7 separate regions of the Homo sapiens genome follow, and regions 2, 3, 4, 5, 6 and 7 are each linked to region 1. The links are contacts of gene promoters, found by promoter capture Hi-C in blood cells and fetal thymus (Javierre and others, 2016). All regions are on one chromosome and are shown on one strand. Each heading gives the region's core, a stretch centred on a gene start or on the middle of the fragment in contact. The rest is flanking DNA. Distances are from core to core; before and after follow the strand shown.

Region 1 (4,081 bases), core at 579-3,078:
CCCTTTCTGCATATGGGGAGGATTCCTGAAGGAGATGATTCTTAAGCCGAATAATGCAGGATTGAAGGGGAAGAATGTAGGGATGGGAATTACTAGCACAGAAATACGAACAAACATGGTTTAAGCGGAGATCTATGAGCAGTTTGGTATTATTGGGAAACAGGAGGCAGGCAGTGGTGGAAGAAGGGACTGCAGAGGAAGACAGAGATCAGATAAGGAAGGGCCCTGAAATGGCCTGTGCAAGGACTTGGTCTTAACCCAGATGGCAGTGGAAAGCTGACAAAGGGTTTTAGGCAGGGGCAAGTTTGGACAGATACACATTTTAGAAAGCTCATTGGCGGCAATGTGCAGAATGAATGGAGGGGGTATGTTATAGGGAGTTATTTTTAGCTCTTTATGCATGGACTTGCACTCAGTCACACACACACAATAGTTAATATCTGAATATGTATGCTTAGCATCTGAATATGTATGTTGAACATCAATTGAGCATACAAAGATTAATGGAGAGAATGTTTTAATTGGCGGCCATGTCAATTGCCTTTTCAACTTTTCCTCCTCCACTTTGAAATATAATATTTCCTTCATACTTAATCCTAGGAAATTTGGTATAAGCAAGTTGTTTGCCGAGAAGGGAGGAAAAGAGGAAAAGGAACAGAGTGGCAGAGTGTTCTGAGTCGTCATTTTTCTGGGGATTAGTGTGGTGTCCATGGGAGGCAGATTTTGCATTTTCGAAGCTCTCATATAATTATTTTCACAATTGTATTCCCCTCCAACACTTGTGAGGAGATTTATAACTTTCTTATTTTTTTCATATTTATCTATATTATTTTAGAACACCAAATTTCTAGAAATACTTCTGAGATGAGTAAGACCAATCTCCAGCTTATGTGGGAAGATACTACCATAAAGAAATTAAGAATCTGAACCTGGGCTGGACGCGGTGGCTCACGCCTATAATCCCAGCACTTTGGGAGGCCGAGGGGGGCAGATCGTTTGAGTCCAGGAATTGAAGACCAGCCTGGGAAACATGGTGAAACCCCATCTCTACTAAAAATACAAAAATTAGCTGGGTGTGGTGGTGCATGCCTGTAATCCCAGCTACTTGGGAGGCTGAGGCACGAGAATCGCTGGAACCCAGGAGGCAGAGGTTGCAGTGAGCCGAGATCGTGCCACACACTCCAGCCTGGGCGACAGAGCGAGACCCTGTCTCAAAAAAAAAAAAAAAAAAAAAAAAAAAAAAAAATCAGAACCTGTTCCTTGGGGGTAAAGAGGATGCTTGGACTAGCAAGGGGTATGATACTAGATGGTGGGCAGCTGGGACTCCTACATTTGGAAGGCACTGATTGACAAGAGAGACTGGGAAATCACCTCTCCCATTTGAAGAGATGGGGAAATTAGGGAGGTCAGGCACCCTAGTGTCCACTGGGAGTATTAAGTTCCTCTGCTGTGAAAAAAGCTTTTGGGGGGATTTGACTCCCGAGGGGCTCCAAATGGATGTGGCTTGTAAGAAAGGTCCCTGGTTATAAGAGTGAAGTGTGTAGGGGTGCGGGTCTGGCTGTGGGTGTTAGGGCGATGATGAGAGGGCCGGGCTGCTGGCTGCGGGTCTGGCTGAGCGGGCCGGGGGCCTCTCACCTTTGCGGGCCTTGTCTCCCGGGATGTTCTGGGCCCGCAGCCGTTGGTCGAGGATGTAAAGCATCTCCCCGCCCAAGTTCAAGAAGAGCAGCGGTAGCGTCCGCACCGACATGGTGCTGGAAACGAGCTGGACTGGTGAAGAGCCCCGGGGTTCGGTAGCCAGTGGCCTGAAGGCCAGGCCGCAGCGTCCCAATAGTCCGGTTGCTGGGGCAACGCCGTGACGGGAAGAGCGAGCCAATCAGAAGGCGGTTTGGTGGGAGGTGCCCTGAAGACGGGAGCTAATTGGTCTGGGTGGTGGACCGTCCCGGGGGGATTGGTCCGAGCCAGAGGCCGGCGCGGCGTTGGGCGCGGCTGGGGAGCTGTGCTTCTGAGAGTAGGTTTCCCTCGAAAGGGCGAGGGCCGGGCCAGGGCTGGGGGTGGTCTCGACACAGCCAGCCCGGCGCTTGGGACCCCGGCCGCTGGCGCGGGGCCTCAGGTTCCTATAACAGAGGAAAGCCCAGGCAGAACGGCATTAGAGCAGGCTCGGGTCAGACGGACCTGGGTTGGAATCACGGCTCGTGATTTCTTGCTGTGTGACTTCGGGCAGGGTTTGAGCCTTGGCTTCCTCTTACGTAACATGGAGCTGGCACTCACATCACAGGGCGGCTGAGAGGAATCAGTCAGATCATGGAAAGGCCCCGAAAGCACTCAATAAAAATGGTAACTGACTTTTCTTTTAGACGAGGGAAGGATCAGAAGTCCTGAGTCGTTTGCATCGCCTCCCAAAAGTTTACTTGAAGTGAAGCCCCTCCTGGTTTCATACTCCATGAAGCAAACCAGTCCCGTCCGTCCCCGTGTGTCCAGTTCCCAGAGGATGCGCCTGGGGGCTCTGGGAAGTTCCCTCCTCGACGCTGTTCCGAAGGCCTCCCAACCATTTCTTTTTTCTTTTTTTTTTTTTTTTGAGACGGATTTTGCCCTTGTCGCTCAGGCTGGAGTGCAGTGGCGCCATCTCGGCTCATTGCAACTTCCGCCTTCAGGGTTCAAGCGATTCTCCTGCCTCAGCCTCCCGAGTAGCTGGGATTACAGGCGCCCGCCACCATGCCCGGCTAATTTTTGTATTTTTAGTAGAGACGGGGTTTCACCATGTTGGCCAGGCTGGTCTGGAACTCCTGACCTCAGGTGATCTGCCCGCCTGGGCCTCCCAAAGTGCTGAGATTACAGGCGTGAGCTATCACGCCCGGCCCCAACCATTTCTCTTTGAGGGCAGCGACTCCCTTCCTTACCTCCATCTTAAGCTCCAGGATTACTTTTTGCCATCTGCTGTATATTTTTACTCTGATGAACAACCATTTCTGTAAATTTCAGTACTTCCAAAACCTACTAATTATCTTTCCCTCCAGCTACTCAAACTTGAAACTTGGGCCTTGGCTTCCAAATCTGTTTCCCAGGGTCTTTTATCAGTCATCATATTATGCTTTTTCCTCCAACACCTTTCTTACATTCATCCCTTCATTTGTTTTTCTGTCTGCATTGCTATGTTCCTCTGTATCACTGTTCTTTTCTCTCTTCTACCTTGCACTGGCTGCTAAGCTAAATGTCAGAAGACATCACTTTTTTTTTTTTGAGATGGAGTTTCACTCTTGTCGCGCAGGCTGGTGTGCAATGGCACGATCTCGGCTTACTGCAACCTCCGCCTCCTGGTTTCAAGCGATTCTTCTGCCTCAGCCTCCTGAGTAAGCTGGGATTACAGGCATGGACCAGGGCACCATGCCCGGCTAATTTTGTATTTTTAGTAGAGATGGGGTTTCACCATGTTGGCCAGGCTGGTCTCGAACTCCTGACCTCAGGTGATCTGCCCGCCTCGGCCTCCCAAAGTGTTGGGATTACAGGCATGAGCCACTGCGCCCGGCCAGCATCACTGTCAACATGACACATCCCTTCAGTGGTTTCCTACTCTTTGCCAGATCACAGTCTAGATGCCTTGGCATGGCATTCCAGGCTCTCCACAGGCTCCAGCTACCTTTTTTTTTTTTTTTTTTTTAAAGAGATAGGGGTCTTACTTTGTTGCCCAAGGTTGGAATGCAGTGGCACCCTGGTGGCTCACTGCAGCCTAGAACTCCTAGCCTCAAGTGATTCTTCCACCTCAGACTCCTTAGTTGTTGGGATTTCAGGTGAGAGCCACCATACCCGGCCAACTACCTTTTTAAAGCCATCTCCTGCACCTGGCCACCTCCTCTCCCCCAGTCCAGTTGAACTTGTCAGCAGGCTGCCTCTTCCTCATTACCACACCACTGAAAAGTCTTGTCCTGCCATAACTGAGCCCAAGTCCTTCCCATATTAACATTCTCCTTCCATCCCTGCTAGTCTGTTTTCCTTCCTTTCCTTCCCAGTGAAGTGTTTTGAACGAGTTGACAACACTCACAACTGGAACCTCCTTAACATCCTCACTCCCCACCTCATTGCAACT
Region 2 (4,081 bases), core at 499-2,998, 1.6 Mb before region 1:
CCCACCGCTCACCTCCTGCTGTGCAGCCCAGTTTCTAATGGGCTGAAGACCACCACTGGTCTGTGGCCCAGGGGGTTAAGGACCCCTGCAATAAGGCAGCATCATGAAATTTAAAAAAAAAAAAAAAATTGCAGCATCTCCAAGACTCCCCCGCTTATTGTCTCAGCACCAGGCACTATGATGACAATTTACACACTAATCATCATTTGATCCTCATAACACCTCTATGATGTAGGAATTATTAGCCCAGACTCTTGTGAAGGCCACAAAGGCTCACAGACATTATGTTAACTTATCCAAGATCACTAGAAGTGATAGAGCCACTGATTTTGAACCCAGGCCTCTCCAATTTCAAAGCCTACACTCTTTCTAGTGGGAAGAACACACTGCAGAGGTATACGGTTTCTGTCCAAACCCTGGACTTAGGGAGAGCTTCCTACAGTTTTTTCCCATCAGCCTGGCATTTCATTACCTAGAAGAGCTTTCCTTTTCCCAAACTCTGAGATTGTACTCAGGGATTTATGAAATTCAGAGACATAGTAATAGTTAAAAGAGGCACCTCTGAAGAATCCCAAACCTAATACTTCTCCATTTTACTTCCACCTTTAAAGCAAGTCCTCTGTATAAGTAAATGCTTCCCTAAATAGCAACTGTCCGTTCAGATTTCCAAACCTGTCTTAAAACATATCGCGCATGAGTTCACAACTATCTCTCACATGCAGCATAAAGTCTCTCGCTACCGTCCTGCTCACATTCTAATCATTCCCAAATAAGTCAATTCATTCCTTTATTCGACACTTATAACCACTTACTCTGTGTCAGGCACGATGCTGGCTTACCCTGTCTGCGTTTCTCAAGACACTTTAAGCTCCAAAAGGCTAAGAACCGTGTCTGTCTGGCCCAATTATGCCCTATCCATCCAGGCACCTCTCCTACCCTGCCTGGCAGAGTGCCCAAAAAAGGTCTGCTGAACGAATGAATGACAGCCCAAACTCCCTAGTGTAAAATCACAACATCCTCCACCCACTCTCCCCCAAAAGGTGGCAGGAGCATAACAGATGCCTTTGCTGATTACAAAAACCTAAAGACTCCATCATAGTCGTCCCCAGGCAGGGTATCACAATGAAAGAGGCAAAAGTGTCTGAAAAACACTGTGACGCATATTTCCAGCCCGGCATGGAGGACGTCTGCCAAAAGCATCCGGTAAAGGTCAACTGGGCTGCTGGGAAACCTGCCCCAGTGCGAGGGCCCGGAGGCCCAACGAGGCCAGAAGCCGTAGTCCCAAATTCAAGAACTACTAACAAGGACACAGGAGGCCTGAGAAGGCGGAAGAATTAGCCCTGACAGTCACTAGAGCGCAGTCCAGGAATGGGAGCGCAAGTAAGGCGAAGGTCCATCCAAATGGCTACCCTTCTCCCTTCTGTGAGTCTCCCGGTCCCCTGTCCCTAGCCCACCTCATTCATGGCCTCATCAACGTCCGTCCTCATTGAGGTGCCGAGAAGCCCTGTCTGCGGAGGGCTACCTGGGCTCCCAGACTTGGCACCAGAACACCCGCCAGAGAGGGGAGCTGGCAGATCTGGCCGGGACCGGGGTGGACCCTAGCGATCACTCCTCCCGTAACTCAGAGGTTACTGGCCTGGGCTGACCCGACCTGCTCGCCGGGACCGCGCGCTCACCTGCGGCCCAGCCCACACTCCCCAGTGCGGCCCCCGCTCTCCGCCCGCTCGCCGGGAGCACGGAAGTCGCCGCACCCAGCGGCCCGCGGGACCTTGCCCTGTGACCCTGCCCACTGGCCGCCGGCTCTCTCGGAGCGCAGGGATTGGCTGAACTTCAGCCAAAGGACGGAAGGAAGCTAGGCGTCCGCAACTGGGCCCCACTGCGCTGAAATGGACGTCGCGCCCTCTGTTGGCCGGGAGGTTTCTCAGTGATGTCGCCACGTGTTTTCTGCGTGGAAAAAGTGAAAGATCATCCAGTCATTTTTTTCAACTGATGTTTATTAGGCGTCTTCTAAGACCTAGGTCTGGGCACGCAAAAACAAAAGACATGATCCCTGACCTCAAGAAGCTCTTCTTAGAAGAGTATATTTTAGTGCTTTAAGACCTCTTGGGATCCGGGCTAGCTTTCTAGTGACCTTGGGAACATTATTAACCTGTCTGAGCCTCCCTTCCCCTTCTGTGTAGAGGTAATAACACCCATTTCGCAAGGATGGTGTGAGGGTTGGAAGAGATAATATTTGTAAAGTACTGTGGCAGGCACACAGCCAGCAGGGAAATAAATGTGGCTATTGTTAGTGTAAAAATAATTCAAATATAGTAAAACCTAAGTCTTACATGACCTCTTGGGTACAAGTATTCACTTCCTCCTCTGTGTCCCCACTGTACCCTATACAGACATCAATTTTATCATATACAGAAAAGTCCCAAAGCTCAAGCTTGTTAATGCTCCCACAAGGCCCTTCCCACCCTCATCCCACTAATCTCAGCCTGCATATTTATTTTGCTCGCACATACTAAACCCGGCAGACCACACTGTTTCACACCTCAGTGCCTTATTGATGCTTTTTCATCTACCTTCCCACCTTTTTTGTTGTTGTTGTTCAATTTCACTCTTGTTGCCTGGGCTGGAGTGCAATGGCGTGATCTCGGCTCACCGCAACCTCCGCCTCCCAGGTTCAAGTGATTCCCCTGCCTCAGCCTCCTGAGTAGCTGGGATCACAGGCATGCACCACCACGCCCGGCTAATTTTGTATTTTTAATAGAGAAGGGGTTTCTCCATGTTGGGGAAGCTGGTCTCGAACTCCCGACCTCAGGTGATCTGCCCGCATCGGCCTCCCAAAGTGCTGGGATTACAGGCGTGAGCCACTGCGCCTGGCCGCTTTTTTTTTTTTTTTTAACAGGACTCTCGCTCTGTTGCCCAGGCTAGAGTGCAGTGGCACAATCATAGCTCACTGCAGCCTCAACCTCCTGGGCTCAAGTGATCCTCCCACTTCAGCCTTCCGAGTAGCTGGGACCACAGATGCACACCACCAGGCCTGGCTAATTTTTGTACTTTTTGTAGAGACTGGGTTTCACCATGTTGCTAGGGCTGGTCTCGAACTCCTGAGCTCAAGCAATCCGCCCGCCTCAGCCTCCCAAAGTGCTGGGATTACAGGCATGAGCCACCGTGCCTGGCCATGTAGTGCCCTTCCCACCTTTCTTTACTATGCCAGATTGTGCTCTGGCACAATTTTCAAGCTTAAGGGTCACCTCCAGAGGAAGCCTCATACATAGACTGCTTATCACATTAGACACCCTTCCTCTATTATCTCAAACAGCTCAAAGCTAAGCTCTGGCAGTGAAGATGGAGAAAAGGGAACAGTATTGTAGGGGCCAAGGTTCACTGAAAATCAACTGACAAAAGGCAGATTAATAGGAGAAAAGACATACAAAATTTTATTTTAACGTGCATAGCACGGGGCGGGGAGGCGAGGGGGTGGGAAGGGAAGGGTCACAGGAGAATGATTACCCAATAACCCAATGGGGTACAGAAGCGTATACACTCTTTTTCATAGGGGAAGGGGAGAGATGGAGAATATAGACAATTCTTCTGAGGGCAGCAAGTGATTCTTAGGGCGAAAAAATGGACAGAAATTAACTTGTAAATGATTCTCTTTAGAATTTGAATGAGCCCGAGAAACAGGCATCATCTTGTGAAAAATCCATCCAGGCGTAGTTGCCTTCCTCAGTCTTCTTTTCTGAGCTAGATGAGATTTCGGAGAGGGGAGGAAGGCAATTTTGTTTCTTTTGGAAAGACGTTTTCTCGATCAGATTAGGAAATTCTAGAGAGAGTGCCTCCCTATACTTGGGAGAGAAGGTTAGAGGGACCTTGATTCTGAGGCAGCTTCGAAGGCCTCTCAGCATGTCAAAGCGCCAGTCTTTGGGGTATCGCTTTCTGAGCCCCAACAGTACAAATAAATATTTAGGAGACCGTTGTTAGCAGAACCTGCTCACTAACTGAATATGTGGAGAGGAGAAGGGAACAGAACTGTCCAGAGTAACTGGCATTTGGTCAGCCAATCATGTGCTAGGCAATGGGGATGCAA
Region 3 (4,081 bases), core at 970-3,469, 1.2 Mb after region 1:
CAAGCTTAAGTTACTGGTTTGATTTGCCTGCCCTGCTTGCCGCATTGTAATGCAGTGACTATTTTTCACTCTCTTTTCTGATGTCATGCCAACTAGCAGAGGCAAGATACACCTCCAGGTCTACAGTTCCTCAGCTTTAAAACAGATGCAATAGCTTAACTACTCTGAAAGACTGCAATAAGATCATATGAGTTACAGTATATGAAAGCATCGCAGACATGGTACACATCATGCAGATGGGATGCTTTCTATTTTTCTTCTTTTTTTTTTTTTTTTTTTTGAGATGGAGTCTTGCCCTTTCACCAGGCTGGAGTGCAGTGGCATGATCTCAGCTCACTGCAAACTCTGCCTCCTAGATTCAAGCTATTCTCATGCCTCAGCCTCCCAAGTAGCTGGGATTACAGGCACGCACCACCATGCCCAGCTAATTTTTGTGTTTTTAGTAGAGACGGGGTTTCGCCATGTTGGCCAGGCTGGTCTCAATTTCCTGACCTCGAGATCTTCCCGCCTCGGTCTCCCAAAGTGCTGGGATTACAGGCATGAGCCACTGCACCGGCCAGGGATGCTTTCTATTTTTCTCAAAATCCAAGGTGAGCTACTCATCCCCTCAAATGTTGCTCCTGGTAACCACAGGTTTGTGTGAATGAGAAGACCTTAATGGATGGAGACTGGCTGGAAATGCCATGTTCTGGACTGGTGTCTTCACAGGAAGCAGACAATCCTGACCTTACTTTTTTTTTTTTTTTTTTTTTTTTCAGATAGAGTCTTGCTCTGTCACCCAGGCTGGAGTGCAATGGCACGATCTCAGCTCACTGCAACCTCTGCCTCATCAGTTCAAGCAATTCTCCTGCCTCAGCCTCCCGAGTAGCTGGGATTGCAGGCACCCACCAGGACACCCAGCTAATTGTTGTATTTTCAGTAGAGATGGGGTTTCGCCATGTTGGCCAGGCTGGTCTTGAACTCATGACCTCAGGTGATCCACTTGCCTCAGTCTCCCAAAGTGCTGGGATTATAGGCATGAGCCAGTGTGCCGGGCCCTGACCTCACTTTTATCTTCATTCTGTAAAAAGTTTATCACTGGGGTCTAATGGGCAAATAGCAGCAGCTTCTAAAGCAACATTTTTTAAAGTGTGGTCTGAGAACCACAAGCATCAGAATCACTTGGGGGATCTGTTTTAAAATGCTGGGCATGGTGGCTCATGCCTGGAATCCCAGCACTTTGGGAAGCAGAGGCAGGTGGATCGCTTGAGCGCAGGAGTTCGAGATCAGCCTGGGTGACATGGTAAAACTTTGTTTCTACAAAACATACAAAAATTAGCCAGGCGTGGTGGCTCAAACCTGTAGTCCCAGGTACTTGGGAGGCTGAAGCTGGAGAATCTCTTGAGCCTGGGAAGTGGAGCCTGCAGTGAGATCGTGCCACTGCACTCCAGCCTGGGTGACAGAGTGAGATCCTGTCTCAAAAATAAAATAAAATAAAACAAAAATGCAGATTTCTGGGTTTTATCCCAGAGCTTCCAAAATCAGACCATCTTGGGGGTGGGGCCAAGAGAATCTACATTTTAGCAAGCTCCTCAAGTGATTCTTGTATATACAAAAGTGAAGTCTTTTCCAAGAGTCACTCGGAGGCTTTCTGACCTGCTGACCAGAAGGCAGCCCTGGAAGATCAAGCTTCTTTCCTACCTATCTTAAATCATCTTGTTCTTCTTAGCAGAGCCAGGGTGAGGAAGGCTGCTGCAGTGTCTAATGCACTCTGAAAATATATATCTTGGCTCTGCCCCAAATGCCTTGATATTTATGCTGCAGCCGGAGGGTCGTTATCCTTTGGCAATGCTCATTTGTAAGGCCATTAGCTCTTAATTAGTGCCGGCTTGTTGAGTTGTACTTCCCAGTTGAACTGCTAGCAGAAGCTGCTCTTTTGGGGCCTCTTGTGTCTCTCCTCTGGCAAGCCCATGAAGCATTGACCCGTGCCTGCTGAGGCCAAGAGTTGGGCCCCTGGAATGGCCGCTGCCCAATGTGAAACAGTCCTAGTCCCCAAATGCTAGGTTCTGGGACTCTGGAAGAACAGAGAAAGGCTCAGAATATACATCTTCAGGATTTTGTTGTTTTGTTTCACTGATAGAAAACAAAAAAGTGAGTCCTTGGTTATACAACCTCAACAGTTTTACAAGCAAATTCAAGTATCAGAAAAGTAAAGTTCGGCCGGGCGTGGTGGCTCATGCCTGTAATCTCAGCACTTTGGGAGGCCAAGGCAGGCAGATCATCTGAGGTCAGGAGTTCAAGATCGGCCTGGCCAACATGGTGAAACCCCATCTCTACTAAAAATACAAAAATTAACCGGGCGTGGTGGCACACGCCTGTAAACCCAGCTACTAGGGAGGCTGAGGCACAAGAATTGCTTGAGCTTGAGAGGCAGAGGTTGCAGTGAGTCAAGATTTACACCAGTGCACTCCAGCCTGGGCGACACAGTGAGACCCTGCCACAAAAAAAAAAAAAAAAAAAAAAAAAGGAAAAGAAAAGAAAAGTGTATTAACTTAGAGCTTCATAGGCCAAGTTACCCTCAGTTTTCAGTCTAGGGTGTCTGGGAAATTCTTGGACAAGGATATAGCAAACTAGTGGGCTTGCTACCTGTAAAAATGGCTAGGAGACTCACCTCTGGGAACCCCAAGAAACTTTTCTTCATGGTCACCACTTCTAAGTGGGAAAAACAGTCGTATTAGTCTTGGCATGCATCTCACTGCTGGGTAGGAGCTCTTCAAAAAGATCCCCAGATTAAGCTTTGGAAAAATAACTAGAAGCATTTCGCTCCTTCCTATCACCAAATCCCTTGTGGTCTTCGGCATATTCTGCTCAAGAAAATCTGAGAAGCACTTTTATGAGATGCTATTAATGGCCTCTAATTTTCAGCATGGTTTAGATAACTCAAGACTGCTGGCCGTGTCCTGAGAAGTGGATCCAGAACACACATTGATGTGGGAATTTAAAGTATAATTCCAAATTGTAGGTAATTGTTTAAGCTCTGAGGAGGCTGGAGGGCCTATATTAAGTCATCTCCCCAGGATCAGTGTGTTTCCTATTACACTCAATATCTATCTGTCCAGGGATCCTTTTGATTTTGAAGCCGTTAGACCAAATCTTTGTGTAATTCTTTACTCCCTTCTCTCCTGCCTACCTCCCTCCTTTTTCTTTAAGAAAACACTTTTTAAAAACTTTATCCAGGTCCCTTGGTTTGTTTCCAGTAGAATAATGTCATGTTAAAGAATCTGAAAAGTTAACTTCCCATCTAAAACCAACAGATCAGTGGAGCTCTGTCTGTCAGAAGTTCAGTCTTGCCCTAAGGGCATCCTCTGCCCAGCAAGACACTGAGATTTTCCTTGACCTCCTCCATCCCTCTTGCTCTTCTGTCTAGACTAGGAACAAAATCTTATTTCTAAAATAGAGATTCAGGCAAAGGTATGGAAGAAAGTCAGGGTGAATATCTTCTCAAGCAGCAGAGGAAGAACTAGTCAAAACCTTTAGCTATGTTTCCTTTTTTAGAGCCCCAGTTAGAAAAAGATAAGTCTATCACTCCCTCATCTTTGGGAAAAGCAATCCTTCCTACTCACTTTTTAACCCAGTTTGGAGGAATCTTCTAGATGTTTTTGTTTTGTTTTGTTTTGTTTTGTTTTGAGACAGAGTCTGGCTCTGTCACCCAGGCTGCAGTGCAGTGGCACAATCTCGGCTCACTGCAACCTCGGCCTCCCGGGTTCACGCCATTCTCCTGCCTCAGCCTCCCGAGTAGCTGGGACTACAGGCGCCCGCCACTACGCCTGGCTAATTTTTTGTATTTTTAGTAGAGACGGGGTTTCACCATGTTAGCCAGGATGGTCTCGATCTCCTGACCTCGTGATCTGCCCACCTCGGCCTCCCAAAGTGCTGGGATTACAGGCATGAGCCACCACGCCCTGCCAGATGGTTTTTTGTTGTTGTCATTTGTTTGTTTGTTTGTTTTGAGACGGAGTCTCACTCTGTCATCCAGGCTGGAGCACAGTAATGCGATCTTGGCTCACTGCAACCTCTGCCTCCCAGGTTCAAGCAATTCTCC
Region 4 (4,081 bases), core at 1-2,500, 1.1 Mb after region 1:
TATTTTTCACGTTGTGTGTTTCATAGTAGCGCACACCAACTTTTTTCGGCCGTTGCTGTCGTACTGCTCGCCTCCGCTGTAAAAAATGGCAAGAAAAGATGAAGAAAAAAAACAACAAAACCCTGAAAGTCATTCACAAAACAGGAGTCTCTGCTTCTCATCTCTGTGTTCTATTTCCCGTGCTGCTTCCACAGCTACTGGAAGCAGTGCTAATGAGGGAGGGCTCCCCCGTAGACCTAAGGTTACTCTTCCATTGTGACTTATGCAACTCCAAGTTACAAATCCACATGTGATCCAACCCTTAGCCAGTGCAAGAATCTGTTCTGCATCACTCCTGACAAGTCCCCTGCAGCAAGGCTGAGTGCTGCTAACCACTCCCCTCCCCAGAGGGCCCACTCTAGCTCTGAACAGCTCAGCTCCAAAGCTGTCCTTCACAGAAGTCAGTGATCTGCCCAAAGCAGATCTGCTCATTGGGTCGTTTCCCTTGGGACTAGAAACTGACTCCTCTAGAGGATAGTCCACTCGTGTGGAGACGTTGATTAGAAACTCCTAAAACGTATGACATGGACTCAAGGACCTGCATCTAGTGGGCCAGACCCGACCCTATTTATCTGACCTCAACTAGGTCAACGAGGACTGGGGTTCTTGGGATTCAGCTCTGGACCATTTGTTTCAGTGGGTCTTGACAACTGGAGTTCTAGTTACTCTACTTGGGCCATACTTAAAACCTATGACACTTACTTCTTTTGATGTAAGCGCCCTGGGAGCTTTATTTGAATGTTCCTGTTCCTCTTCCCTTTGTGCCTTCCGCTTCTTTCCCTTTTTGGAAGGTGCTGGATACAAACAATACACAAACAGGAATTTTCTATTGAAAATTTGTCTATAAACCCAACGGTGGGAACAAGCTTGATGTATCAGGAGGAGGACACCCAATGTGGACAGAGCAGGTGAGCACAGTGGTGAGTAAAGCAGGCCAAGGGGAGGCTGCCAGGTAAAAGGATGCCCTAAGCCATGCTCTCAGTGTGAAAGCTGATGGTCAAATGGAGGAATGGATAAATGCAGGAAACACACCCCCCTCTTTGTCTGTGGACCCACCCTTGGATTCTAGGTTAATAATGAACCCTTTCTAGGAAGTTTCCTGAATTGCCAATTTAATCCTAAAAAATGTGCAGAATGAAAAGCAGATAATTCAATTTGCATAACACTATGTAAATTTAAAGTAATCTGCCAGATATGACAAACATTTATGTGGATGACTGAGATAATTTGGAGACTGAACTTAGGTTTCTCAAAACTCTAAATATGCAAATTACATCTAAATGATTGAAATAATTTAACTTCACCTCTGTCATCTACATCTTCTTCCAGTGTTTTTCTTTGTTCTTCAGGTTTTGCAAATATCTTTTCACTCAGTCCCTTGGATATTCTGAAACAGAAAAGCAAAGTAACATTCCTCCTCTCACTCGCCCGAATCACATACTGACCTGGAGACCTGCGACAAACTCACAGACTAAAGAAACCCCACTCCTATCCAAGTAGTTATCACCAGTGGAAGAAGTCAACATCCAACATGTTTGTACCTCCCTGGGTGTTTCTAAAGCTTCTCATACTGCAGGCAGCTGAATTTTACAAAATTTACAGTTCACTTTTTAAAAATGGCAATAACAGCCAAGTGTGGTGGTGCACACCTGTAGTCACAGCTACTTAGGAGGCTGAGATGACAGCATTGCTTGAACCCAGGAGAGTGAGGCCAGTCTAGGCAACATAGCGAGACGCCGTCTCAAAAAACAAACAAACAAAAAACCCAACCGAACAAACAAATGGCAATAACCCCATGTAAAAATATGGCTCTGGTACTCATGGCAAATTTTTGGGAAAGGAATGAAAATCTGCAATTTGTGAGAAGATGAAAATATTACCTGACTGCTGAAAACTTTTTGGCTTTGGCTTTGTCTAGAAACTTCTGATATTTGGCAATCTTCTCATCCAGTGCTTTAATAACGGCTTTGGTGTCGTTTCCCACATTTTCCTCCTCAGGCTCCGAGGAAGACTCTTCCGCATCATCTCTTTGTTGCTCCTGTTCCTCCTCCTCTTCATCAGAAAAGCTCTCAAGCTCTTCCTCAAGATCTGACACCTCCACAGGAACCAGGTCATCCCCAGAAAACTGAGGCACCACGTTGATTTTACCAAAGTTCTGCCGAACTCGTGTGAGAATCTGCTGCATCTCTGTGTTAGCATCACAGTGACTGTTCTCTTCTGTTTCTTCCTTAATGATGGATTCTGACCCTTCACCTGCAGTTTCTGTGACTTCCTCCCCTGGATTGTTCTGGGCTGCTTCTGGGACAACTTCCAAAGATGAGGAGGGTAGAAGCTATTAAGGGGTGGAAATGGGGGAAATAAATAGAATCAGAAAATGAAAAATGGAATTTCTGAACTCATATCTTGCTCTTAAACAGTCCTCTTCTCAGGACTAAGGGAAGGTATTGAAAACACCCAAATTTGAGTCATTTCATTAATGTATTTTTAAACCAATGTACATTAAGCCCAGAGATCAGTACTAGGATCAAAGGAATACATGTGTAGTTCCACAGGATGAACCAACTAAGACTATTTAAACCATTAAAACCAACCAATGATTTATCATAGAAAAGCAAGGCTCCCTAGACCTTCCCTAGGGGGCTGCTGATATAAGCACATGCAAAATCAGCACACACAACTACATAAAAATGAAGGCCAGGCTGGATGTTACAGATGAGAACAGTACTAAGAGAGGCATTTGAGGAGGTCCTCTGATTTAAATGTGTCCCCCAAAATTCATATGTTGGAAACTGGTATGGTTTGGCTGTGTCCAAATCTCATCTTGATTTGTAGCTCCCATAATCCCCATGTGTTGTGGGAAGGACCGGGTGGGAGGTAATTGAATTATGGGGGCAGGTCTTTCCCATGCCGCTCCTATGATGAATTAAGTCTCACGAGAGCTGATGGTTTTATAAAGGGCAGTTTCCCTGGACACACACTCTTGCCTGATGCCATGTAAGACATGCCTTTGTTCCTCCTTCACCTTCCGCCATGATTGTGAAACCTCCCCAGCCATGTGGAACTGTGAGTCCATTAAACCTCTTTTTCTTTATAAACTAACCAGTCTCATGTATTTCTTCATAGCAGTATGAAAATGGACTGATACAGAAACTTAATCCCCAATGCAGCAAGTGTTGGTAGGTAAGGCCTAATAAGAGGTAATTAGATCATGAGGGCTCCATCCCCATGAATGGACTAATGGATCTCGGGGATGGGTTCGTTTTTAAGAGTGAGTCTGTTGGCCGGATGTGGTGGCTCACGTCTGTAATCCCAGCACTTTGGGAGGCCAAGGTGGGCAGATCACAAGGTCAGGAGTTCAAGACCAGCTTGGCCAACATGGTGAAACCCCATCTCTACTAAAAATACAAAAATTAGCTGGGCCTGGTGGCATATGCCTGTAGTCCCAGCTACTCAGGAGGCTGAGGCAGGAGAATCACTTGAACCCAGGAAGCAGAGGTTGCAATGAGCCGAGATCGTGCCACTGCACTCCAGCCTGGGCAACAGAGCAAGACTCCGTCTCAAAAAAAAAAAAAAAAAGAGTGAGTTTGTTATAAAAGCAAGTTTGACCCTCTCTTGCTTGCTCTTGTCCTCCCACTTTCCACGATGGGATGACCCTTGTCAGATGCTGGTGCCTTGATACTGGACTTCCCAGCCTCCAGAAACATGAGCCAAAACAATTTCTGTTCATTATAATTACCCAATCTGTAGTATTCTGTTGCATCATCACAAAACAGACTAAGATAGGAGGCATCCTGAAGCAAGAGTATAAGGTAAGGAGGGGGAATTCTGTGATTGAAGAGAGTTCATTAGAGAACTAAGTCTGGGGACCCTGAAATGACTGGCCTGTTTTAGGTAACCGCAAAGATAAGTATGTGCCAAGCTTTCTACTGGTGTTTCACATGTATAATATCATTTTATCCTTGCAACAAAAACTCAGAGAACTTAAAAGTGATGTTCTAAAGTCAAGAGTGGCCGGGCAAATCACTAAATAAGTACAGAACTA
Region 5 (3,703 bases), core at 777-3,276, 1.1 Mb after region 1:
CTGCTTTAGATCTATACATGTTATTAGAATAAAGAAAGAACGCTGTCACATCAGTGACAGTTTATTTCTCAAAGAAAAAAAGAGATAACATTTGAATAAAAATGCAAAACTGAAGTACAGTTAATATGATCAAAATTGTTGTGTACATGCTCCATGGAGAAATCAGGAATTCTTTCACAAAGAACAGATCCACAGCCAATTTCAGTCACTTGTGATGCTGAATCAGCACCCACTGGTAGCAACCAGGATCCTTCTGTACAGTCACGGGCTTGAGCAGGTGCCATAAAGCATCTGTTTAAGTTAAACAGTCAATAATGTTTACTGACTGCAGTACATTCCCACCCCCCAAAAAAATAAGTGCAAAATCAACTTCTAAGCTCAAGAGCTCAAACAAGTCAAAGCTTTGGTATATACTGGAGGTTGTTTTGGTGATAACCAAAGCCTAGTAAGATTCTCTGCTCAGGGGTTCGCCCCAAAAGAAAAACACCTGGTCCACAAAGCTTAACACCTATATAAATAAAGTAACTGTACAAAGAGAACAAGCCATGATTTCCCCTTAACCAAGGGTTTATAGTTTCCTAGGCAGCAGTTCTGAAAGCACCAACTAAAACCACAACACTTCTACTAAAACACGGTGTGTTGTAATTGGTGAGACTGTTCTGAAAACAAATGCCTGCAGGCATGTGGCCAAGGTGCCACAGAAAAAGTTTAACAAACATTAGTCAGTGTATTCAAATGGTAACACAATCTGGTCAGCAACAGAGGAAAGACTTAAGGCAGTAAGAGGCATTACAGAGAGCACCATAGTGCTGGACCCACCACCATAGTGCTCTCTGAGTCAATCAAAGACTTCCAAGAAGGAAACCGTGTATCAATAGTTTGGGTTCTTAGTTTGCTAGCTGTCAGACACTTCTTCCTCCTCCTCCTCATCCTCGTCATCTTTCCTGTCTATTTCAGAAGTGTCCGACGACTCATGGAGCAAGACGTATTCTCTGCTACTGAATCCAAATTTGAGTACATCCTTTTCTTTTAGTTCATAGTATCTCTGTGGCTCAATACGTTTGTTGTTTAAGAAGGTTCCATTGCCTGAGCCAAGGTCAATGATGTAGGGCTTCACTCTTCGGCCAACTGTGCCATCAGCACGGGTATATTCCACAAGCCTAGCAGAAAAAAAGGAGAAACCTGTGAGCAAACTTCTGCCTCAGATCATCCAGCTTCTCTAAAGCTCTTTGCTAAGATAGCCTAGATGACGTAAATAACCTGGCTTGAGCACAATTCAAGTTAAAATTCTAGGGAATCAAAGAAATCAAGGGGAAAGCATGGCCCTGGGAAGGAAAATTGGAAGTTTAAATATACTTAGAAAAGGTGAGAATGGACCGGGCGCGGTGGCTCACGCCTGTAATCCCAGCACTTTGGGAGGCCGAGACGGGCGGATCACGAGGTCAGGAGATGGAGACCATCCTGGCTAACATGGTGAAACCCCGTCTCTACTAAAAATACAAAAAAATTAGGCAGGTATGGTGGCGGGCGCCTGTGGAGCCAGCTACTTGGGAGGTTGAGGCACGAGAATGGCGTGAACCCAGGAGGCAGAGGTTGCAGTGAGCCGAGATCACGCCACTGCACTCCAGCCTGGGCAACAGAGCGAGACTCTGTCTCAAAAAAAAAAAAAAAAAAAAAGGTGAGAATGAGTTGCTGGAAGGTGGGGAGAATCCATGGTAGATCAAAAGGTGGAAATGCAGAATCCAATGTCTCTTGCTGTGGTTAAGAAAATACATTTTTTTCTGTTGTTTATAATCAACATAATGTTTCTTTAACCTATATTTCAATATATTTTAGTTCCTGTCCAAATGGGAAAAAACAGTGCACTTGGACTTCAGAGTCAAGGGAGCTATATTTGAGCCAGAGTTCTACTATGGCAGGGGTCCCCAGCTCCTGGGCCATGGACTGGTACCAGTCCGTGGCCTGTTAGGAACCGGACCACACAGCAAGAGGTGAGCAGCGGGCAAGCAGGCAAGCGAGCCAAACTTCATCTATATTTTCAGCTGCTCCCCATCACTTGAATTATCATTGCCTGAGCTCCGCCTCCTGTCAGATCAGCAGTGGCATTAGAGTCTCGTAGGAGCATGAACCCTATTGTGAACTGTGCACAGGTGGGATCTAGGTTGCGCGCTCCTTACGAGAATCTAATGCCTGATCTGTCACTGTCACCCATCACCCCCAGATGGGACCATCAAGCTGGAGGAAAACAAGCTCAGGGCTTCCACTGATTCTAGATTATGGTGAGTTGTATAATTATTACATTATATATTACAATGTGATAGTATTAGAAAATAAAGTGCACAATAAATGTAATGCACTTGAATTATCCCGAATTCCCCCGGTTCCATGGAAAAACTGTCTTCCATGAAACTGGTCCTTGGTGCCAAAAAGGTTGGGGACCACTGTACTATAGTGATCATTTGTTAGGCAAGTCACTTGGTTTTGCTGGGCTTCAGTCTTCTCATCTGTCAAATGGGGATACAAATACGTGTCCATTCGAAGTCAGGAGACCATGTTAAAAAACAAACAAACAAAACGGGCCAGCCGCAGTGGCTCACACCTGTAATCTCAGCACTTTGGAAGGCCAAGGCAGGCGGATCACGAGGTCAGGAGTTCGAGACCAGCCTGGCCAATACAATGAAACCCCGTCTCTACTAAAAATACAAAAATTAGCTGGGTGTGCTGGTGTGTGCCTGTACTCTCAGCTGCTCGGGAGGCTGAGGCAGGGGAATCACTTGAACCCGGGATGCAGAGGTTGCAGTGAGTTGAGATCGCGCCACTGCACTCCAGCCTGGGCACAGAACGAGACTCCGTCTCAAAAAACAAAAAATCTATCCTATCCTTCTCACAGGATTGTTGTGAGAATCATCACAGATGTCCCATGCAAGCTATCAAGATCCAGTTTCAAAATTAGCTGGGCACAGAGGCACACGCCTGTGGTCCCAGTTACTCAGGAGGCCGAGGCAGGAGACAATCATTTGAGCCCAGGAGGTTGCCGCTGGAGTGAGCTGTGTTTGCTCCACTGCACTCTAGACTGGGTGACAGAGTGAGACCTTGTCACAAAAAAATAAAAAATAGATTAAAAGTTTAATGTTCTTATAAATATGTAAGCAATTATTTAAAGGGCAGTTAGATTAACAATACTCTTTAGATAACATATGAGGGGTATGGGATTCTTCTGCATAAACATGAACAAAAATCTTAGTAATCCTAACTGAGTGATTGTTTCTGCTCACATTACAGTTTCTTCCTCCATGTTACTTACCGATATTGAAAGACCGCATGCTGCTTTGAACAAGACGGGTGATCAATTGGAATGTCTGCAATGCGGCGGTGTCGACCCAGTAGGTACGCACTCTGTCGATGTATGTACATGACTGGAAGCACCTCATCATTTTTAAATGGGTAGAGACGCCACCGTTTTTTGGGGATACGTGCTTCTGGGGGCTCACTATATTTAATGACTACACCCCGGAAAGTGTTGGTGTCCTCAAGAAGTGCCCCAGAAAGTTCAAAGCTTGGTTTTTCTTTAGCGGGCACCTCTTTTTCTTTGTTGTTGCCACCAGGCCGAGGAACCAACTCCTGAGACTCACTGCCGCCACCACCAACGTCATTCCTCTGGCGATGCTCCCGTCGCCTGGCATTATAAAACTCCCGCTCTTCT
Region 6 (4,081 bases), core at 630-3,129, 1.1 Mb after region 1:
TTTTAAATTTATTTATTTATTTACTTATTTATTTATTTATTGAGACGGAGTCTTGCTCTGTCGCCTACGCTGGAGTGCAATGGCAGAATCTCAGCTCATTGCAACCTCTGCCCCTTGGGTTGAAGCGATTCTCCTGCCTCAGCCTCCCAAGTAGCCAGGATTACAGGTGCCCACCACCATACCTGGCAAATTTTTGTATTTTTAGTAGAGACGGGGTTTTGCCATGTTGGTCAGGCTGGTCTTGAACTCCTGACCTCAGGTGATCTACCCACATCAGCCTCCTAAAATGCTGGGATTACAGGCATGAGCCACCGCGCCCAGACATTTTTTTTTTTTTTTTTTGAGACGCAGTCTCGCCCTGTCACCCAGGCTGCAGTACAATGGGAAATCTCAGCTCGCTGCAACCTCTACCTCCCAGGTTCAGACGATTCTCCTGCCTCAGCCTCCAGAGTAGCCTGGGATTACAGGCACGTGCCACCACACCCAGCTAATTCTTTTTTTGTATCTTTAGTAGAGACGGGATTTCACCAAATTGGCCTGGCTGGTCTCGAACTCCTGACCTCATGATCTGCCCACCTCAGCCTACCAAAGTGCTGGGATTACAGGCATGAGCCACTGCACCTAGCCATTTTTTTTTTTTTTTTTTTTTTGAGAGTCTCACTCTGTCTCCCAGACTGGAGTGCAGTGGTGCGATCCAGGGTCACTGCAATCTCCACCTTCTGCGTTCAAGTGATTATCCTGCCTCAGCCTCTGAAGTAGCTGGGACTACAGGCGCACCCCACCATGCCCGGCTAATTTTTGTATTTTTAGTAGAGACAGGGTTTCACCATATTGGCCAGGCTGGTCTCAAACTCCAGACCTCAAGTGATACACTCACCTTGGCCTTCCAAAGTGCTGGGATTACAGGTGTGAGCCACTGTGCCTGGCCACACTTTCATTTTAATACGTATCTATTTTACCTTATTTACTTATTTATATATTTTTTTGAGACGGAGTTTCACTCTTGTTGCCCAGGCTGGACTGCAATGGCGCGAGCTCGGCTCACTGCAACCTCTGCCTCCCGAGTTCAAGCGATTCTCCTGCCTCAGCCTCCCAAGTAGCTGGGATTACAGGCATGTGCCACCACGTCCGGCTAATTTTGTACTTTTAGTAGAGACAGTTTCTCCATGTTGGTCAGGCTAGTCTTGAACTCCCAACCTCAGGTGATCCACTCGCCTCGGCCTCCCAAAGTGCTGAGATTACAGGCGTGAGCCACTATGCCCGGCCAATATATATTTATTTTAATGCTTATTATTTAAAAAGTGGAGAACAGATTAGTGATATGAAGTGTCTCTTAAATAAACTTAATTCTCAAATTTAAAGAAAGAACCAGGGTTCCTTAGAGGAATGGCTGATACCAGGTCTGGGACAAAAAATGCAAAAGGTAAGTATGGGACATCTCTTAGGCCAGAAAGCAATGGAGTACTCCAAAAGTAATAGGGTCATGTTGAAACGACAAACAAGCCAGCTTGAGGAGGCTCCCTCTGACCACAGCTGGGACAAATGTGGGAGAATGAAAGAAACAGAAGTCAAAAAAGGAAGACTCTTTTTCAGAATGCCAGTAATAAATATAAAGGGAATAATACAATTAGAGAATCACTATTTTACAACTTCCAGTGTACTAACGGATTCAGATAAGAATCAACGGTGTATACTAAACAACTGAATACAAATTTAGAGGGAGCAGTATATTCATAATGTCTCAAAGCATAACATCCAAAATTACTTGTTAATCACAATGGGAAAAAATGAACTTTTATAGCAGATAAATCATATGATCAAACTTAGCAGCAACAAATAATAGGACAATGTGACATTATGTGCCTCCTGATAAACTAGAGATAGATAACAAAGGATACACCAATTGCCTATGTAAGATTTTTGCAAAAATGTTTAAAGGATCTTTCAGGACCCTTTTAATCAGTCATGAGTTTTGCCCTCAGAAAATCTCAGGAAACTGCAACATTCTACAAGGCAATGTCATGAATACCACCACAACCACCACCAAAAGGGTGACTCTCCTCAATCTTAAGACATAATAGCCAAATGCATGCATGAATGCTTACTGAATCCTGGATCAAAACAAATTAGCAAAGAATTTTTGGGGACAATTGAGGAAATTTTAATAAAGACTATGTATTAGATACTATTAATGCAGTATTGATTTTCTAGGTATAATAACTGGTTAGGTAGAAGAAATGGCCCTATACTCAGGAGGTAATTACTGACACATTTAGGTGCAAAGTGTCATTTACCTGCATCTAACTTTCAAACCGTTAAGTGGGAAAAAAAGGTAGGGGGACTGGGAGATATAACTACAAAGGAGTGGCATGAGGAAGATCTTTGTGGTAATGGAATAGTTCAGTAACTTCATTGTGGTTACATGAATCTACACACAAGATAAAGTGACACAGAACTATATATATACATTGTACCAATGTCAATTTTCTGGCTTTGATACTGTATTATAGCTACATAAAACACAACCATTGGGGAAAACCAGATGAAGGGTACAAGAGACCATTCTGCCAACTCCCTATGAATCTATAATTATTTCACAATTTAAAAATGTGAAATGTAAATATAGATGTGTGCTTATATTAATATATATTATAGAAAGTAAGAGAAAGCAAATGTCACAACACATTAACAATTTGTGAATATAGGTAGGAGGGTATCAAGTGTTCATATACTATTCTTCCCATTTTCCTATAATTTGAAGATTTTCTAAAAGTTTAGAAATTTTTTAAAAATAATATTACTAAGTAAGCAGTGGTACAGCTGGCACACAGGTATGGCAAAAATTGTGAGGGTCAGTTGGGCGTGGTGGCTCACCCCTTTAATTCCAACACTTTGAGAAGCTGAGGCAGGAGGACTGCTTGAAACCAGGAGTTCCAGGCCTGCCTGAGCAACAAAGTGAGATCCCACTTCTACAAAAAAAAGTTTTTAATTAGTCAGGTACAGTATGGTGTGCCTGTAGTCCCAGCTAATTGGGAGGCTGAGGTGGGAGGATCACTTCAGCCCAGGAGTCTGAGGCTGCAGTGAGCTAAGTTCGTGCTACTGCACTCCAGCCTGGACAACAGCGTGAGACCCTGTCTCTTAGAAAAAAGAAAAGTGGCCAGGCGTGGTGGCTCACACCTGTAATCCCAACACTTTGGGAGGCCAAGGCAGCAGATCACCTGAGGTCAGGAGTTCGAGACCAGCCAGGCCAACATGGAGAAACCTCGTCTCTACTAAAAATAAAAAAATTAGCCAGGCATGGTGGCACGCACCTGTAATCCCAGCTACTCAGGAGGAAAAAGAAAAAAAGAAAAGAAAAATACTGTGAGGGTAGAACTCATGACTGATTAAAATGTGTAAAAAATTTAATAGAATGCTATTGTATAAAGATACTGTATTTAAGCCTCACACAACCCTGTGCCATAGGCCCAACTTTCGCTATTTTACAGATGTGAGCCTTGTCTAAGATTATTCGGTGAGGCAGTGCCTGAGCCAGAGTCCAAGAGTTCAAGTCCAGATCACACCACTACTTTACTACTGCCTCCAGCAAAGTTGCCACTAAGAGCATACAGTCCTAAAAACAAACGTTACTAGGGCACAATAGGAACACTACAGGCTTTCGACACTCACTTTTGGTTGGTCAGATACCGATCCCAGCCACGAATAATATTGCCATACATCTGAGTGTCTTCCAGGTAGCTTCCCTCAAAAGCATAGATCTGTCGCTCCAAATTTGCCAATGTTTCCTGAGAGATGAAAAACAAGGACATGAATGATACCTTTTAAATGCAAACACTTAAGTCTGGCCAAAATGAAATCCTGATATTAGACTCGTAAACGCAAGCTTGCCCACACTAAACCACCCTGTGGAGAGATGGAAGATACGGGGAGGAGGAGCCGTTTAGGACTAAGACAGTCTAGACCTTTGGGGGTGATGGACCCCTGAATGTATAAAGCATGTCTCCAGAAAAATACACACACACGCGAAATTTTGCATATACTTTAGAGGATTCACGGAAACCATGAGTCAAGAGCCCAGGCT
Region 7 (4,081 bases), core at 461-2,960, 1.0 Mb after region 1:
CCCCTGGGCATGGGTCCTGGGGGTAGAGCTGGGTGGGGAGCTGAGGCTGGCATCCCTGTATGTGCTAGTGCCCGACCTGGGTGCACACAGCTGCCAGGGAGTGGGGGGAGCCTCCACAACTGCCTCACCCGCGCACCTCCCCAGCCTCTGCTGGAACTGCTCCTGGCTCCTGGCGCACCGCGCTCCTGTTGTTTAGTTTTTCTGAACACCGAGTCTCAACCCCATGTTAATTGGTTTTACTCCACTCTTTTGTGCCACCCATTAAATGAGGAAATGCCACCCATAAAATTTTAATTTTAAAAGCCAACTTGTTTGTTTTATATTGAAATTCCCCGGGCAGCTCCAGCAGAGGGAAACAGACACATTTTCGTTTCATTAAAGCAACTTGAATGAAGATGAAAAAGAAGCTGAAAAATTAGATTTAAAAACAGAGAGTGAGAAGCATTTAAAGAAAATGAATGAAAGTGAGCTGCCACAGAAGGCGGTGGGGACCACAGCTCCATCTCTGCCTTCCCAGAGCCTCCTGCAGGGAGACAGTGGAGCAGAAGTGGGAAGCTGGGAGTGGAAGGGGACACTCTGGGTGCCCCCAGAAGGCTGGACCATGCACTCTCCTCTCACTAAAGCTGGCCCCCTGGATATCCTAGAGGAAGGAGGGTAGAGCATCCTGGACCCTGGGACCAGAAGCATCCTTCCTCCCTGGGGACAAACTGCATGGCGATGAGGCTTGCTGGCTTGGAAGCTGAGCCGTCTGGATGGTCCTGGCTCTGCCACTTACCAGCTCTGTCAAGGTGGGCAAGTGGCCTGTTTTGCTCTTCGTAGTGATGATCTGTAAAACAACCCAGCTTATAGGGTTGGTATGAAGATTAAATAGAATAGTACCTTGAAAACACTTTAAATAGAGCCCGGTATGCAGTAGGTCCATAACAAATGTTAACTTTGACTAATGACATCCGGCTGCCTCCCTTCCATTGCATACTCCTTACACATTGCCCCTGCTGAGTGCACCTCCCTCCTTCCCTTGCCCACACATCCCCCTCCCCCATACCCGCCACCCACTTCCTTTTTTTAGGAGGCAGGGTTTAGCTCTGTCACCCAGGCCGGAGTGCAGTGGCACAATCAAAGCTGACTGCAACCTCGACCTCCTGGCCTCAAGGGATTCTCCCACCTCAGCACCCCTCCCCAAGTAGCTGGGATCACAGGCATATGCCACCATGCCCAGCTAGTTTTTTTTGTTTTTTTGTAGAGACAAGGTCTCGTTATGTTGCCCAGGCTGGTCTAGAACTCCCAGGCTCAAGCAATCCTCCCACCTCAGCCTCCCAAAGTGCTGGGATTACAGGTGTGAGCCACCTCTCCGGCCTTTTTGGGTTTTTGTTTTGTTTTGTGTTTTGTTTGGTTTTGACGGAGTCTCCCTCTATCACTCAGGCTGGAGTGTCATGGCTCACTACAGCCTCAAACTCCTGGGCTCAAGCAATTCTCCCACTTCAGCCTCCTGAGTAGCTGAGACTATAGGCACGTGCCAACACGCCCAGGTAATTTTTAAATATTTTTGTGGAGACAGGTTCTTTCTCTGTCGCCTAGGCTGGAGTGCAGTGGCACGATTCCGGCTCACTTCAACCTCTGCCTCCCAGACTCAGGTGATCCTCCCACCTTAGCCTCCAAAGTAGTAGCTGGGACCACAGGCTCGCGCCACCACGCCTGGCTAATTTTTAAAATTTTTTTTAGTAGAGAAAGGATTTCACCTTGTTGCCCAAGCTGCAAAGTTCCTTTTAATGATGTCCCTGAGCTGAAGACAGCTACAAGAGACTGCGGACGGTCTGATGAAAGGCTTGGGAAGCCTCATTCCTTCGCAATTCAATTCTTGTGGGCCAAACCAATTAAAATGTTCGTATAATCCTTCCAAGGAAAGCCAGCCTCCCTGGGTTCAAATCCCAGCTCTACCACTCACCACCTGTGTGTTCTTGGGCCAGTTTCTTCTGGGCCTCAGTGTCTCTATCAATAAAATGAGACTCACAGCTGTCATGAAGGTCACAAAAAACAAGCTCTGTGGAGTGCTGGGCAGGTAACCGGCCAGTGAGTGGCGGCTTTTACTTTCAGCATCAGTTGGAGACACAGCAGCAGGAGAGGGTGTGGGGGTCTGAAGCTGCGGAGGGGGAGGGCAGGGCAGGGGTTCCATCACAGAATGACCTCGTGGGGGTTCTCAGCTATTGCCCTAGGGTAACTTTTTTTTTTTTTTTTTTTGAGATGGAATCTCGCTCTGTTGCCCAGGCTGGAGTGCAGTGGCACGATCTTGGCTCACCACAACCTCTGCCTCCCGGATTCAAGCGATTCTCCTGCCTCAGCCTCCTGAGTAGCTGGGACTACAGGTGCACACCACGATGCCAGCTTTTTTTCTTGTCACCCAGGCTGGAGTGCAGTGGCACCATCTTGGCTCACTGCAACCTCTGCCTCCTGGGTTTAAGCGATTCTCCTGCCTCAGCCTCCCGAGTAGCTGGGATTACAGGCACCCGCCACCACATCAGGCTAATTTTTTGGTAGAGATGGGGTTTCATCATGTTGGCCAGGCTGGTCTCAAACTCCTGACCTCAGGTGATCCACCCGCCTCGGCCTCCCAAAGTGCAGGGATTACAGGCGTGAGCCACCAGCCTAATTTTTGTATTTTTAGTAGAGATGGGGTTTCACTATGTTGGCCAGGCTGGTCTCGAACTGCTGACCTCTGGATCCACCTGCCTCAGCCTCCCAAAGTGCTGGGATTACAGGCGTGAGCCTCCGCGCCCGGCCGCCCTAGGGTAACTTTTAATGACACTCCCTTTCATTCCCAAACGTATCCTAATCTGGATGACTAATTATATGGTCATCCTACTCCAAATCCCCCACGCCCAAGATGGGGCCTGGGAGCTGGCCCATGGTGTTGGGAAAGGGTTCTACTCCTGACCTGTTTTCCTTTCCAGACCCTTGGGATTGCCTAAGCCCTGGGTCCCAGCCCCAGCCCTAGCCCACTCTCAGGCCAAGGAAACTCATTCCCTCAATTAGCATTATAAAGCGGCAGGGAGGGGAAAGGCCTCGAAGGCGGGTGCCCGGAAGGTGCTGGGAATGGGAGTCTGTTGGGATTCCGGGCCTTACCTCTGATCCTGACGGCAATTCCTCATATCCTTAACTTCCTCTTTCCTGCAGGGAAATTATTAACAGTACTATCTCTGATTTGCAAAGATCAAATCACACAAGGACTGGCGGTGAAAGTGTTGTGTGGTCCGATGAGTGGCATTAGGAGGGCAGTGACTTCTGCTTCGGCCACCAAGGCAGAATTCCCAGATCCTGTTTCTCCGGTGATTGTGGGGGAGACAGAGATGGAGCATAAAGGGTCACAAAGGGTCCACAGATGGCTGGGGGTGAGGTGTCTACCCAGTGCCTCGGCCTATAGAAGTCTTCTCACTCACAGCCCCTAGCCCACTTCCACCAGGCCCGGAAGGACACCTCCAATGCCTGTCCAGGGCCCCCTGGCCCTGCTCAGAGATGCCTCCTCCAGGCAGAGGCAGCTGCTACCCTCAAGCTCCAGGTGACTGCTGCCAGGCTCAGAAGCTACTCAGGGTAGGTGGTGAGCCCGCTGCCTCCAGGGCTGCTTCTCAGAAAAGCTCAGAGAAGACATCTTAGCGGCTAAGTGGCACTCATTTTATTTGAGGCAGAATTCTTGTCCGGTGGTCCCCAAACTGCACACCTAGGAACCCCAAGAGCTTAATGACAGATGAGAGTTCTGAGGGAGTGGGACCAAGTGGGCAGGACTCCAGGGGCATTGAAGGGCTTCCTCCTCTCCTCTCCCCTCCCCTCCCCTCATCTCTCCCCTCCCCTCCCCTCTCCTCTTCCCTCCCCTGTCCTCTCTCTCCCCTCTCCCTCTCCTCTCTGCTGTCTGTCCTTTCCCATTCTCTTCTCTTTCTCCCTCTCTTTCACTCTTTCTTCAACCAGAGCAGCTCCATTTAGTATTCTGTCCAAAATTTTTCTCGCACAAAAATGTCCACAGTTAAAATAATTTTTCAAAAACAGAGTTCTGTTCCTCCTCTCTCCTTTCCTTCCTCAACAATTCAGTCCT

What was found. The method cuts DNA at HindIII sites, captures the fragments that hold promoters and counts their contacts. A CHiCAGO score of 5 or more calls a contact.
Region 2: the fragment with the promoter of SMIM12 here is called in contact with the fragment with the promoter of OSCP1 in region 1 in 1 of 17 cell types (naive CD8 T cells); the score reaches 5.6 in naive CD8 T cells.
Region 3: a fragment that was not itself captured here is called in contact with the fragment with the promoter of OSCP1 in region 1 in 1 of 17 cell types (endothelial precursors); the score reaches 6.5 in endothelial precursors.
Region 4: a contact is called between a fragment that was not itself captured here and the fragment with the promoter of OSCP1 in region 1, in 1 of 17 cell types (endothelial precursors). The highest score is 8.0, in endothelial precursors.
Region 5: a fragment that was not itself captured here is called in contact with the fragment with the promoter of OSCP1 in region 1 in 1 of 17 cell types (endothelial precursors); the score reaches 5.4 in endothelial precursors.
Region 6: a fragment that was not itself captured here is called in contact with the fragment with the promoter of OSCP1 in region 1 in 1 of 17 cell types (endothelial precursors); the score reaches 5.3 in endothelial precursors.
Region 7: a fragment that was not itself captured here is called in contact with the fragment with the promoter of OSCP1 in region 1 in 1 of 17 cell types (M1 macrophages); the score reaches 5.1 in M1 macrophages.

What each region holds. Positions count from the first base shown.
Region 1 is chr1:36,448,623-36,452,703 of GRCh38, forward strand. OSCP1 (organic solute carrier partner 1) reads right to left here and starts at 1,829. Exons shown (of 10, transcript NM_145047.5): 1 at 1,636-1,829. The coding sequence starts at 1,747. It overlaps LOC107984940 (a long non-coding RNA gene), which reads left to right. Exons shown (of 3, transcript XR_001737976.2): 3 at 836-943. RefSeq lists a silencer at 1,955-2,224. The HindIII fragment of the contact is 5,222 bases long and covers 1,458-4,081 here.
Region 2 is chr1:34,858,001-34,862,081 of GRCh38, forward strand. It overlaps SMIM12 (small integral membrane protein 12), which reads right to left and starts at 1,749. Exons shown (of 2, transcript NM_138428.6): 1 at 1,677-1,749. RefSeq lists a silencer at 1,571-1,700. The HindIII fragment of the contact is 6,874 bases long and covers 1-2,429 here.
Region 3 is chr1:37,598,311-37,602,391 of GRCh38, forward strand. No RefSeq gene overlaps it. Among named protein-coding and RNA genes, the nearest start is that of GNL2, 4.4 kb to the left of the region's middle. The HindIII fragment of the contact is 1,106 bases long and covers 1,667-2,772 here.
Region 4 is chr1:37,566,932-37,571,012 of GRCh38, forward strand. GNL2 (G protein nucleolar 2) reads right to left here. Exons shown (of 16, transcript NM_013285.3): 13 at 1,920-2,371; 14 at 1,344-1,426; 15 at 742-833; 16 at 1-76. Among named protein-coding and RNA genes, the nearest start is that of DNALI1, 12 kb to the left of the region's middle. RefSeq lists an enhancer at 1,284-2,483. The HindIII fragment of the contact is 695 bases long and covers 904-1,598 here.
Region 5 is chr1:37,536,853-37,540,555 of GRCh38, forward strand. SNIP1 (Smad nuclear interacting protein 1) reads right to left here. Exons shown (of 4, transcript NM_024700.4): 3 at 3,305-3,703; 4 at 1-1,160. The coding sequence ends at 896. It overlaps LOC105378649 (a long non-coding RNA gene), which reads left to right. Exons shown (of 3, transcript XR_947190.3): 3 at 1,837-1,884. Among named protein-coding and RNA genes, the nearest start is that of SNIP1, 16 kb to the right of the region's middle. RefSeq lists an enhancer at 2,839-3,703. The HindIII fragment of the contact is 3,056 bases long and covers 499-3,554 here.
Region 6 is chr1:37,509,754-37,513,834 of GRCh38, forward strand. MEAF6 (MYST/Esa1 associated factor 6) reads right to left here. Exons shown (of 7, transcript NM_001270875.3): 2 at 3,670-3,785. Among named protein-coding and RNA genes, the nearest start is that of MEAF6, 3.0 kb to the right of the region's middle. The HindIII fragment of the contact is 4,004 bases long and covers 1-3,881 here.
Region 7 is chr1:37,449,120-37,453,200 of GRCh38, forward strand. No RefSeq gene overlaps it. Among named protein-coding and RNA genes, the nearest start is that of LITATS1, 23 kb to the right of the region's middle. RefSeq lists enhancers at 2,239-3,438, 2,841-3,631. The HindIII fragment of the contact is 7,035 bases long and covers 1-4,081 here.